Regions from separate parts of the Homo sapiens genome. Here region 1 is linked to region 2. The links are contacts of gene promoters, found by promoter capture Hi-C in human tissues and cell types (Jung and others, 2019). All regions are on one chromosome and are shown on one strand. Each heading gives the region's core, a stretch centred on a gene start or on the middle of the fragment in contact. The rest is flanking DNA. Distances are from core to core; before and after follow the strand shown. Region 1 overlaps CDK19 (cyclin dependent kinase 19). Region 2 holds the start of GTF3C6 (general transcription factor IIIC subunit 6).

What was found. The method cuts DNA at HindIII sites, captures the fragments that hold promoters and counts their contacts. A contact is called where the count stands out against the background at its distance.
Region 1: a contact is called between a fragment that was not itself captured here and the fragment with the promoter of GTF3C6 in region 2, in 1 of the 25 tissues and cell types used here (heart left ventricle).

Annotation. Positions count from the first base shown.
Region 1 is chr6:110,666,019-110,672,434 of GRCh38, reverse strand. CDK19 (cyclin dependent kinase 19) reads left to right here. Exons shown (of 13, transcript NM_015076.5): 3 at 1,894-2,004; 4 at 4,861-5,001. Among named protein-coding and RNA genes, the nearest start is that of CDK19, 150 kb to the left of the region's middle. The HindIII fragment of the contact is 6,157 bases long and covers 1,671-6,416 here.
Region 2 is chr6:110,954,693-110,960,728 of GRCh38, reverse strand. GTF3C6 (general transcription factor IIIC subunit 6) reads right to left here and starts at 2,023. Exons shown (of 6, transcript NM_138408.4): 1 at 1,903-2,023; 2 at 1,477-1,557; 3 at 252-315; 4 at 113-157. The coding sequence starts at 1,959. RefSeq lists an enhancer at 1,701-2,150. The HindIII fragment of the contact is 9,932 bases long and covers 1-4,448 here.

The sequences.
Region 1 (6,416 bases), core at 3,500-5,999, 290 kb after region 2:
AATTGGAAGTCACAGAAAATGTAGTTTTTTAGAAGTGTTGATTAAATATTGCTACTGTGACAACCACTTTCCCAGACAAGTGAGGTCCAGGAATCAGGGATCTGTGCCAGTGTTGGGTGTTTCAAGAGCCTGGTTTAGATGCGGAAGTGGAGTTCTACTTTCCCATCTACTTCAGGCTGCAAAGAGAACATATTTTGCATAGGTAATAAAGGCAAACTCTCTACGTTCATCAATATCAAGGAGTCAGAAAGAAGGAGACAGTCATTGTGCCTGGGGTGAAGTCTCTTGCCACAGTGTAAGTGCTTCAAGGCTGGCCATAGCAATGGGGTCATTAAAAACAGGGTTTGCCAGAGCCAGAGATCCTGAAGTGTTCAAAATGGCAAACTCTCTAGATTTTGGGAGGCCAAGGTGGGCAGATCACTTGAGGTCAGCAGTTTGAGACCAGCCTGGCCAACATGGTAAAACCCTATCTCTACTAAAAATACAAAAATTAGCCGGGCATGGTGGTGCGTACCTGTAATCCCAGCTACTCAGGAGGTTGAGGCAGGAGAATTGCTTGAACCTTGGAGGCGGAGGTTGCAGTGAGCTGAGATTGTGCCATTGCATTCCAGCCTGGGCAACAGAGCAAGACACTGTCTAAAAAAAAAAAGTTACTAAAGTTATTAGAATGGGTAAGCAGTTTATTTTTCTCTGCCTCATTGATCTATTTATATGTCTGTCTTCCTTACCACATTGTGGGAATTGAAGACATGAACTTTAGCTGTAGTGGAAAAAGCATGGACTTTGCAATCAGGCAGATCTATTTAAGTCCAAACCCCTTCTCTTTCTAGCTATTTGACTTTGGTCATGTTATTTTTATCACACTGAGCCTTGGGTTCTGTGTGCATCATAAAATTGTTCTAAAGATTAAGTGAGAGAAAAACATTTGTATATAATCATCTTGCACATATAAAATATTCAAGGGAAGTTTTGTCTTTCCCTTTTTGCATCTTTCACAGAGCTTTACATTTAAAAGGTATTCAAAATATTTATTAAATTGAATATGTTTCTCTTTACCTGTGAAATCTGAACCCTGTTTAAGGACAGCCTGAGGGAGGCATATTTCTAAGGCTTTTACCTTGAGCAATAATGTCATTGTTGCTAAATATTTTATCAAACAGCTGTCTGTTATGCGCAAAGTGCTGTTTCTGCTTGCTGCTCTGGTCTATCTTTCCTACATATCGTCAGAGTCCAGCTTAAAGCTTTTACTTTGTGAAGTCCTATTTCTTTTTTTCTGTTTACAGGACCTGTTCTCAACTTCAGTTTTTATAAGTGGGCATGACAGTCATTCCCTTATACTCACTACTCTTCAAAAAAAAACCCTCAACCACATACTCTAGGGATGGATAAGTACAGGGATTGTTAAATATCTTTCCTTGTTTTGTCGCCTGTTTCTTGAGCACCAATACAGTGCTAGGGTAGATATAAGCAGTATTAATACATGAGTCCTGCCTCCCAAGGAACAGTTTCTTTAGTAAAAAAGATATGCATGTACAAAAATGTAATTAATTATTTAATGATATGATATTACTTTTGTTTGCTGTTTTACATTTTACCATTTAAAATCCTATTTTTAAAAACACATTCCTGCTTGCAGTCTCTGACAAGAAAGAAAGTAAAACAAAACAAAACAGATATACCTAAGCACATAGAAAAAGGATTGGAAAGATATGCACCAAGATATTGACAGAGCTTATCTCTGAATGCCAGTATTTTGGGTGGTATTTTTTTCTTTCATTTTGCTTACCTGGATTCTCTAGATTTTCAGAAATTTCGTTTTGAAGTTATAAGACATTCATCATTTCCCCCTCCTTGCTAACACAACAGTGACCCCTCTCTTTCTTTTGCATTCAGCTTTTGCGAGAATTGAAGCACCCTAATGTGATTGCATTGCAGAAGGTGTTCCTTTCTCACAGTGACAGGAAGGTATGGCTGCTGTTTGATTATGCAGAGCATGACTTGTGGGTAAGTATAATCTCACTGTATTTCTAGGATTGTTTTATATAGGTATGGAGCATATTTATATAAAATACATATTGTTAATGCACAGAAAGGAAAGCTTGCTCTGTTAGCCATATTTCAAAGTCAATATAAACATAAATGTTGATTTTGAAGAATTTAAGCAATAAACTCACATTTTACTGAGAAGATAGTATTTGTAATATTTAGAAATTTTACTTCAGAAAGATTTTAATGAATGGGAGACTATACTTTTTTTGGCCCGGGGGAGACGAACGGGGAAGGGAGTTTTGCTCTTGTTGCCCAGGCTGGAGTGCAGTGGCACGATCTTGGCTCACTGCAACCTCTGCCTCCCAGGTTCAAGCGATTCTCCTGCCTCAGCCTCTTTAGTAGCTGGGATTATAGGCATGCACCACCATGCCTGGCTAATTTTGTATTTTTAGTAGAGACGGGGTTTCTCCATGTTGGTCAGGCTGGTCTCGAACTCCCAACCTCAGGTAATCTGCTCACCTCGGCCTCCCAAAGTGCTGGAATTACAGGCGTGAGCCACCATGCCTGGCGGGAGACTATACTTTTATGCAAGTAATTAATGGCAGTTTACTAATATGTATAGTGAAGATTGCTTTAAGGATGTTTTTATCAACGTATGAAAGAAGCAAAAAATTCTAATTCCTGTCTTTTCAAATTAGGAATCAGAACATTTAAACACTTTATCTGAGGAACTGCTAAAAGTAACAAACTTCAAATCTGGCACTAAGTTAAAATTATGGATAATTAATTTAGCACCACTATGCCTGGCTAATTTTTCAAAAATGTTTTATAGAGACAAGGTCTTGCCACCTTGCACAAGCTGGTCTTGAACTCCTGGGCTCAAGTGATTTTCCTACTTTGGCCTCTCAAACTGTTGAGATTATAGGCATGAGCCATCACACCCAGCCTTTTTTGTTTGTTTGTTTGTTTGAGACAGGGTCTCGCTCTATCACCCAGGCTGGAGTGCAATGGCACAGTTATGGTTCACTGCACCTTTGACCTCCTGGGCTCAAGCGATCCTCCTGCCTCAGCCTTCCAAGTAGCTGGGACCACAGGTGCATGACCACACCTGACTAATAAATTTTGATTTAATATAATGTGGTTTGTCATCTATATAAGTTATAAATCTGTTGAGGAATAACTTTAACAGACTCAGGTCTTAAAGAAACTTTCAGAGTGTATGCTATTATAGCAGATATGGACAAGAATTTCCAGTGTGTTTTTTTTGTTCAATTCTTTTCATGGATATTCACAGACATTGTATTTTCTCCATTTTTCTATATTCCCCTATATGTCAACCAAGGCTTACTGGACAGTGTATGTACTTTACTTTGAACATCAGTGGGGTGATGAAAGAAGATGATGTTGTACATTGGAATAGTCAGATCCTGTAGAACTGTACTGTCCAATACCATATTTCAAAATAAATATAATCATAAATGTTGATTTTAAAGAACTTAAGCAATAAACTGACATTTTACTGAGAAGATAGTATTTGTAATATTTAGAAAATTCACTTCAGAAGTATCTGAAGTGCACACATTGATTTTACCTGTTTCTTTTTTTTTTTTTTTGAAACGGAGTTTCACTTTTGTTGTCCAGGCTGGAGTGCAGTGATGCAATCTCAGCTCACTGCAACCTCCGCCTTCTGGGTTCAAGTGATTCTCCTGCCTCAGCCTCCTGTGTAGCTGGGATTACAGGCATACACCACTACGCCCAGCTAATTTTGTATTTTTAGTAGAGACGGGGTTTCACCGTGTTGGTCAGGCTGGCCTTGAACTCCTCACCTCAGGTGATCCACCTGCCTCGGCCTCCCAAAGTGCTGGGATTACAGGTGTGAGCCACCACACCCAGCCTCTTTTTTAATGTAGCTGTTAAAAAGTGGAAAGTTATACATGTGGCTCCCAGTATATTTCTACTGGAAATCACTGCTGTAGTATAAACTCTATTTTTCTATTATTTCTTAAAATCAAATCAATGTTATTACTGAACAGTTTATAAAAATAAAAAAGCTGTATAAATAGCTTAATAATTTTACATACCATTTGGTCATCTTAAAGTTACTGGAGCGCTATTGACAATTTCATCAGTATTGTTTGCATAGGATTTTGATGGTCCTCAGTGTCCATTTTATGTTTTGGACAGAGGCAGGGGTGGGGTAGGGATGGAGGTGGAGGTGGGAGCACTGCGGGGGCAGGTAGCATTTTTTCCCTTTCAGTACAATGTTTTTATAACCCACAATATAACGTGGATATAAAAATTTGAATATGGTGACCCAGTTGTATTTATTTCAATGGGATCGAATTTCCTATTTTTTCTCTCTCTTCCTTTTTAGCAATTTCATATTTAACATTAACTCCTAGGAATATATTCTAATTTATTCTGTGCCAAAGATGAAACTTTTCCAATAATTCAAATATACACCTGATCAGTGATGTTACCCAAGTGTACTAAGTGCTAACTTTTTATAGAAAGTGAAGATTTACAGTTTTTCTTTCTTTTTTAAATCTTTCATTCTGTCAGTAGAGAATATAATACTCTTCTTCAGCAGCTGTTTCAATATCAGTCCTTTTTACCTTTTGGTCCTATTTAATGAAAATCTTAATGGTTTCAGTAAATTTAGTCATTATAACCCCTCATTAACATGGTCACAGTCACCCTCAAAATAGATTGTTTTGGTTGAACTTATTACTCAAATTATTTTTCTTTGTGTCATTATTGGCCTTTAATAAGTAATTTTAAAATATAGAGCATTTGTTACAGCATTGATTGTGTTTTATTGGCATAGATATTAGCAAAGACTATATTATTATGTTTTTTTTTAATTTTTAGCATATTATTAAGTTTCACCGTGCATCAAAAGCAAATAAAAAGCCCATGCAGTTGCCAAGATCTATGGTTAAATCCTTACTTTACCAGATTCTTGATGGTATCCATTACCTCCATGCAAATTGGGTGCTTCACAGAGACTTGGTAAGTATTTTTCTTTTAAATTCATCAATATGTTTTTCCCTACTCTTTTAAAAAATATATTTTCTTCTTGGTACCATTATAATAAAACATTAATTATAGAAAAACTTGAAAATATACATAAGCAAAAAAGAAGATAAAAATCACCCATAAACCTATAATAAAAAGATTAACACTATTTAACATTTGGTGGGTATCATTCCATTATATTTATGCATAGCTGTAAAATATCAGTGTGATTTTGAACAAATGATTACTGTACAATTTTAATGGAGTAGTCACATGTGAAGCATGCACATTTCAATCCAATTTGTTCTTCATATTATTGCTCATCATTAGTAAAAATGTAATTAATACTGAGTTCTCATTTTTCTTTCCCTTAAGATCTAAACTGAAATAATGACATTGCATCTAGTAAAAAGAATGTTATCAATATTAATAAACAAATGAATAAATAAATCTAACAGGTGGTATATACTTATTAGGCAAATTAGCTGCAAGTTAGTGTTTGATTTTACTTTTTTTTATTCAGTATACATGTAACCATTATTTACTGATATCAGATTATATTGCTAGATATTCATCTTCACATTGTTGTTATTTTAGTTTATGTTGATGCAAGTTTCTTTTGTTTGTTCTTAAGAAGATATGGTTATGGAATAGCTGTAATCCTCATTTTCTCCTCAGTTTATGTTGGAGGTTTTATTTTGGCCCCACAACGTGATTTCATGATCTTTTGTTTCTTAGGCTTTTGAGAATTCTGGGGATATGGTAGGGATACATCTAGGTAAATTCCATTTTATTAACTGATGAGCAGTGTTTATTGACGAAAGGATCTAGTTAGTATCCGTTGGGACCTTGTCAGTCAGGGCTACTCATCTGACTTGACCATTCTTGCTGTGATATTGTATAAATTGGGGTTAAATGATAGTGACCACAAAAGATGCATTTACCATATTAATGGAAGCATTTCTCCTTATAATTTTTTTTTTTTTTTTTTTTTTTTTTTTTTGAGACAGAGTCTCTCTCTGTCGCCCAGGCTGGAGTGCAGTGGCGCCATCTCGGCTCACTGCAACCTCCGCCTCCTGGGTTCAAGCAATTCTCTGCCTCAGTCTCCCAATTAACTGGGATTACAGGCACCCACCACTATGCTGGGCTAATTTTTTTTTTTTTTTTGTATTTTTTAGTAGAGACAGGGTTTCACCATCTTGGCCAGGCTGGTCTTGAACTCCTGACCTCGTGATCCACCCTCCTCGGCCTCCCAAAGTGCTGGGATTACATGTGTGAGCCACCGTGCCCAGCCTCTCATAATTTTTAACTGTAAGATTCTTTGAGGCTTCCATGTGTCCACTTTACTATTAGCTCTGAATCAGCATGTTTTAAAATGATTATTGGGCTGGGTGTGGTGGCTCATGCCT
Region 2 (6,036 bases), core at 774-3,273:
GGAAAATGATAGGATATGATACAGCTAGACAGTGGATACATGAGATATTTATTATGCTTAAGTATGATTGAAATAGTTCGTATTAAAAAGGGCTGGGCTAGCAATCACTTACCATGTTCAACATTTTCTTCAAATATAACACAGGTCCCTAGAGTGTCTGCAGAAAAATACAAAGGCAAATTGTTGAGAAGAGCTACCATCTCTGAAAAGCCCATATCAGAAAGAGTTCCATCTATCTGACATCCTCCTACCTTCATACTCCCCAGCAAAGACACAGCTGTCCACTTGCAGAATGGGCCTCTCAGTGTCAATGCCCTACAACAGAATAAAGGATCATAAAAAAAAAACATAATTAGAAAAAGGCTTCAACATTGTAACCTTGCTACCAAGGAAACTAATCTCCAAAACTGGGGAACCTCTAGAGCATCTTGTCCTACCAAGTACAGGATAAACTACAACTGCTCTGATCACAGCAGTTACAACCTGAAGACTACTTAATTCATACTCAAGTAACAAGGTTTATTTCAATCAACATCCTGTTCAAGAGTAAGCTAAAAACAGAGGAAGTTTTGTCAACAGTAGTGCAAAGAGTCTATCTGTCATCTATTTATTTTTTGAGACAGTGTCTAGCTCTGTCACCCAGGCTGGAATGCAGTGGCATGATCATGTTCAGGCAATCCTCCCACCTCAGCCTCCTGAGCAGCAGGGACCACAGGCGCATGCCACCATCCCCAGCTAATTTATTATTATTATTATTTTTTTTTTTTATTGAGATGGAGTTTTGCCCTTTGTTGCCCAGGCTGGAGTACAGTGGCGCGATCTCGGCTCACTGCAACCTCTGCCTCCAGGGATCACGCGATTCTCCTGTCTCGGCCTCCCGAGTAGCTGGGATTACAGGCGCCCACCACCATGCCTGGCTAATTTTTGTATTTCAGTAGAGACGGGGTTACACCATGTTGGCCAGGCTGGTCTCGAACTCCTGGGCTCGTGATCTACCCGCCTCGGCCTCCCAGTATTGGGATTACAGGCGTGAGCCACCGCGCCTGGCCATTTTTTTTTATTATTATTTTAGAGAAGGGGTCTCGTTATGTTGCCTAGGATGGTCTCCAATTCCTGGGCTCAAGTGATCCTCCCACCTCTGCCTCCCAAAGTGCTGAGAATACAGGAATATATGTACGGTTCCATATCACAATGTTACTTCCTCCAAATCTGTAACTTTCTCTTCAGCCACACATTCAAACAGGCAAGCAAAGTTAGCCATTTTCTCCTATCTGCTCCCATAGTCCCCGCTGTACTTCTACATTATACTTAATTACATATTAATTAATTATACTTAGTATACTTCTTATCCTTAGAGTTCACTACTTTGTAAGGTGAAATAAATATATCAATACTTGCGGATAGGTATTTCACCATTGATTCTTGTTTTACATTTAAGACACTCTAGAACAATCCCCCCAAGTCTAGAAAACTCACCAAAACCTTGCATTTATTTTCACATTTTGAGAGGAAGTCTGAATCAATAATTCCTGATAATTCCACCAGAACCAACTGCTCCTGGTGAAAGAAAGAGGGGTTAACATGCTAGCACGCGAGCGGCCAAGAGGGAGCAATTAGCAAAAGAAGCCAAATTTCCCACATTTGTGAAAACCGGACCCTGTTTTCAGCAAGAGGAAACTACGCTACCTAAGGTAACTTCCCGGTACTTCCCATCCCAAGTACGGGGTGACGATTAGGGCTAAGGTCCCAAGCTGCCCGGCTCCTCGCGCCCAGGAGCAAGAAGCCGGTGAGGAGCAGTGGGGCCTCCCTCCGGCCCGCAGCTCCCCAACTCCCTTCCCCACACACAGCCAGCACAGGCATCACCGCCACTGCGGTGCAGGCTTTTGGCGTAGCGCTTACTACCTCCTCTTCCTCGTCTTCTCCGTCCTCTGGACTCCGCTCGTCCGCCGCCGCCGCCATGGTCCCGCGGCGCCTCGCCTTCTAGTCACTGGCCACGCCCGCCCGGAGCCGCCATCTTGAGTACGGGCTTCAGCTCCGAGGCGAAGCAGCTTATTGGGTTCCTGCCGCTCCGCTCCTCGCCGCGCAAATTGCTTCTGCCAGAACTCGAGATGTCGGCTTCCGGCGGGCGGGTGGCTACGGGCGCCGAGAGCGCCGGTACCCACGTGGAGACTCGCCACGGGCCTCCTCGTTTCTCGGTGCCTCAGAGCAGGGGCTGGGGGTGGGCTGCCGTAGGCAGCGGAGCCCGCTCGGTCACGCAAGAGTCGCCGGGCTCTCGGCCCCGCTGGCGGGGAGGACTGGCAAGGCAGAAGGGATAAAGGCGAAAACAAGGAAACCATGGTTTCAGGCGGATCATGGACAGAAAGGCCTTGTGTTTGACCCGAGCACATTTCTTGGAAAGAAATTCTTAATATTGTGTGAGCGCTCATCCTCAATTCAACGTACCCCAAGCCAAGTTAAAGGCACATTCAGTTTAATACTAATGAGCGCCTACACAGTAAAAAGCACTGCACCAGGAGCTATGAAAAATAGAAAGTGGGCTTAAGTTTCAGGCCTGCAGGAGCATAAGATCTGTGAGAGGTACATAAATGGATCCAAGCAAGTGCTGTAAGAGATACACATTGTTATAGGAACACAGAGACCTGGGCAAGAGAAGTTTGAACAGAATTTTCAGAAGTATCCCATAGATGTTTGTGATTGTGAAAGAAACGGTCTTCGTACTTGCGATAGCGTGATCTAGTGGTTAAGATCGTGAGTTTTGGATTTTTATTTATTTATTTATTTGGAGATGGAGTTTTGCTCTTGTTACCCAGGCTGGAGTGCAATGGTGCAATCTCGGCTCACTGCAGCCTCCACCTCCCGGGTTCAAGCGATTCTCCTGCCTCAGCCTCCCGAGTAGCTGGGATTATAGGCATGCGCCACCACGCCCGGCGAATTCTGTTATTTTTAGTAGAGACGGGGTTTCTCCATGTTGGTCAGGCTGGTCTCGAACTCCCGACCTCAGGCGATCCCCCTGCCTGGGCCTCCCAAAATGCTGGGATTACAGGTGTGAGCCACCGTCCCCAGCCTGAGCTTTGGATTTTAATACCAGTCAAGTTCTGCTGCATTATTAACAGCAAGGCTTTGGGCAGATTGGTGGTTGTGAGGATTAAATGAGACAATACATATAAAATAAATTTAGCCCAGTATTCAGCACATAGTAAGCATTTAAAGTGCATTTAATCTATTATTAGTAGTAATATATAAATTTTTTAGTATGATGCTCTTTCTCTCTTTCTTTTATTCATTGTTTGTTTCTTTCTTTCTCTCTTTCTTTCCTTTCTTTTTTGTGACAGGGTCTGGCTCTGTCGCCCAGCCTGGAGTGCAGTGGCGCCATCGTAGCTCCCTGTACCCTCAAACTCCTGGGCTCAAAGGGAGCCTCCTACCTCTGCTTCCTGAGTAACTGGGACTACAGGTGCACGCCACAGCGCCTGTCTTTACATAATGGTTGTATGAGTGTGCCATAACTTGATCCTCTATTTTTTAACACATAGGTTATTTACAATTTGTGGATATTGTAAATAACACTCTTTTGTGTATATTTTTGTCCAGTTGCCTAATTAAATGTATAGGATTTCATAGCTTAAAAAAGTAGAAGGAACACTGGACCTGTTAGAAGTACATTTCAATTCTAGCTCTGAAGCTTAATAATTGTGAAGTTTTCCAACCTCAGTTTTCTTATTTATTATATGAGGATGAAAATAATTATACTTAACACCGGGTGCGGTGTCTCAAGCCTGTAATCCCAGCACTTTAGGATGCTGAGGCGGGCGGATCACAAGGTCAGGAGATTGAGACCATTCTGGCTAACACGATGAAACCCTGTCCCTACTAAAAACACAAAAAAATTAGCTGGGCATGGTGGTGTGCACCTGTAGTCCCAGCTACTCCGGAGGCTGAGGCAGGAGAATGGCGTGAACCCGGGAGGCGGAGCTTGCAGTGAGCCAAGATTGTGCCACTGCACTCCAGCCTGGCCGACAGAGCAAGACTCCGTCTCAAAAAATAATAATAATACTTACTGTGTCTTTTTTGCTTGGAAAGCAAAAATTCAATCGTATATCTAAAAATACTTGGTAAACTGAAAAATTACATAAATTGTCAGATTTTGAGGGAGATGTGGGGAGAGTAAGGAGGAGTGGATAATCCAAGCTGAGGGAACAGCAGAAACAAAGGCTTGAGGAATGAAAATATGTGTGTTTTGAAAGGTTAGTGTGTTATAACTCAAGATGTCCCTTTAAAATAAACAAGCCTCATACTTCTAGCAAAAGTTATTGTTTGGTATTTATGAAGTAATTATTTTTATTTACTTTTAATGATTTACAAAAGAATACACAGTTAAAAGGGAGCTTTTTTTTTTCCTTTTTTTTTTTTTTTTTGAGACGGAGTCTGGCTCTGTCGCCCAGGCTGGAGTGCAGTGCCGTGATCTTGACCCACTGCAATCTCTGCCCCCTGGGTTTAAGCAATTCTTGTGTCTGAGCCTCCCTAGTAGCTGGGATTACAGGTGTACGATACCACACCGGGCTAATTTTTGTATTTTTAGTAGAGACAGGTTTCACCATGTTGGCTAGGCTGGCCTTGAACTCCTGACCTCAAGTGATCCACCTGCCTTGGCCTCCCAAAGTGTGAGCCACCGCGCCCAGCCAGAAAGTGAGCCTTCTACACCTGTCCCCCAACCATTTGTACCAGTTTCTTTTATATCCTTTCAAAGATATTCTGTGTGTTTACAAAAACACGTGTATATAAAATCTGTGAAATAATTTTTATTTTTAATTTTAATTTTTTTTTTGAGACAGTCTCATTCTGTCGCCCAGGCTGGAGTGCAGTGGCACCGTCTCAGCTCCCTGCAACCTCTGCCTCCTGGGTTCAAGCAGTTCTCTTGCCTCAGCCTCCCAAGTAGCTGGGACTACAGGCGCCTGCCACTATGCCCAGCTAATTTTTGTGTTTTTAGTAGAGACAGAGTTTCACCATATTGGCCAGGCTGGTCTTGAACTCCTGACCTCAGGTGATCCACCTGCCTCAGCCTCCCAAAGTGCTGGGATTACAGGTGTGAGCCACCATGCCCAGCCAATAATTTTAATATTATAATGTGGCTTGCAGACTGGAAAACCATTCCCTTGGAAGGAAGGAGGACATCATAGTAATGACTCCATGATCTAGAGCTTGTACCCTGTGAAAATAAGCTTAAAGTTTGAAACATCTCTCAGCTCAAAACAGGAGCTTATTAGGCACAATAAGCATCCATAAGCATCCATAGGCACCCGTCAGCATCAGCTTTGAAAGGAGACAAGCCTTTTGGTGACTGGGAGGAATTTCCACAATCTAACAGTGGGACTCCATTCTTAATACAGTCTACTCTCAATGACTTAGAATTCCTAAAAAGATTAAAAGGAGCGGGGTGCAGTGGCTCAGGCCTGTAATCCCAGAACTTTGGGAGGCTGAGGCGGGAGGACTGCTTAAGCCCAGGAGTTTGAGACCAGACTGGGCCATGTAGTGAGATCTCGTCTCTACAAAAAATTTTAAAAATTACCCAGGTATGGTGGCGCATGTGTTTAGTTTCAGGTTCTTGGGGGTGCTGAGGTGGGAGGCTCGCTTGAGCCCAGGATCTCGAAGCTGCAATGAGCTGCAATCATGCCACTTACTGTACTCCAGCCTGGGTGACAGAGTAAGACCCTGTCTCAAAAAAGAGAAAACATTGTGCCAAGTGAAAGAAGTCAAGACACAGAGGACCACATACTGAATGGTTCCATTTATATGAAATGTCCAGAATAGGCAAGCCTATAAAGAGAGATAGTAGGTTGGGCGTGGTGGCTCACACCTATAATCCCAGCTCTTTGGGAGTCCAAGGTAGGAGTATCCCTTGAGGCCAGGAGTTTGAGACCAGCCTGGGCAACATAGAGAGATCCCATCTCTATCTTTAAAGAGAGAGAGAGATTAGTGGTTGCCAGGGGCTTGGGAGGATGGTGGAATGAGGAGCGACTGCTACTGGATGAGGAGTTCCTT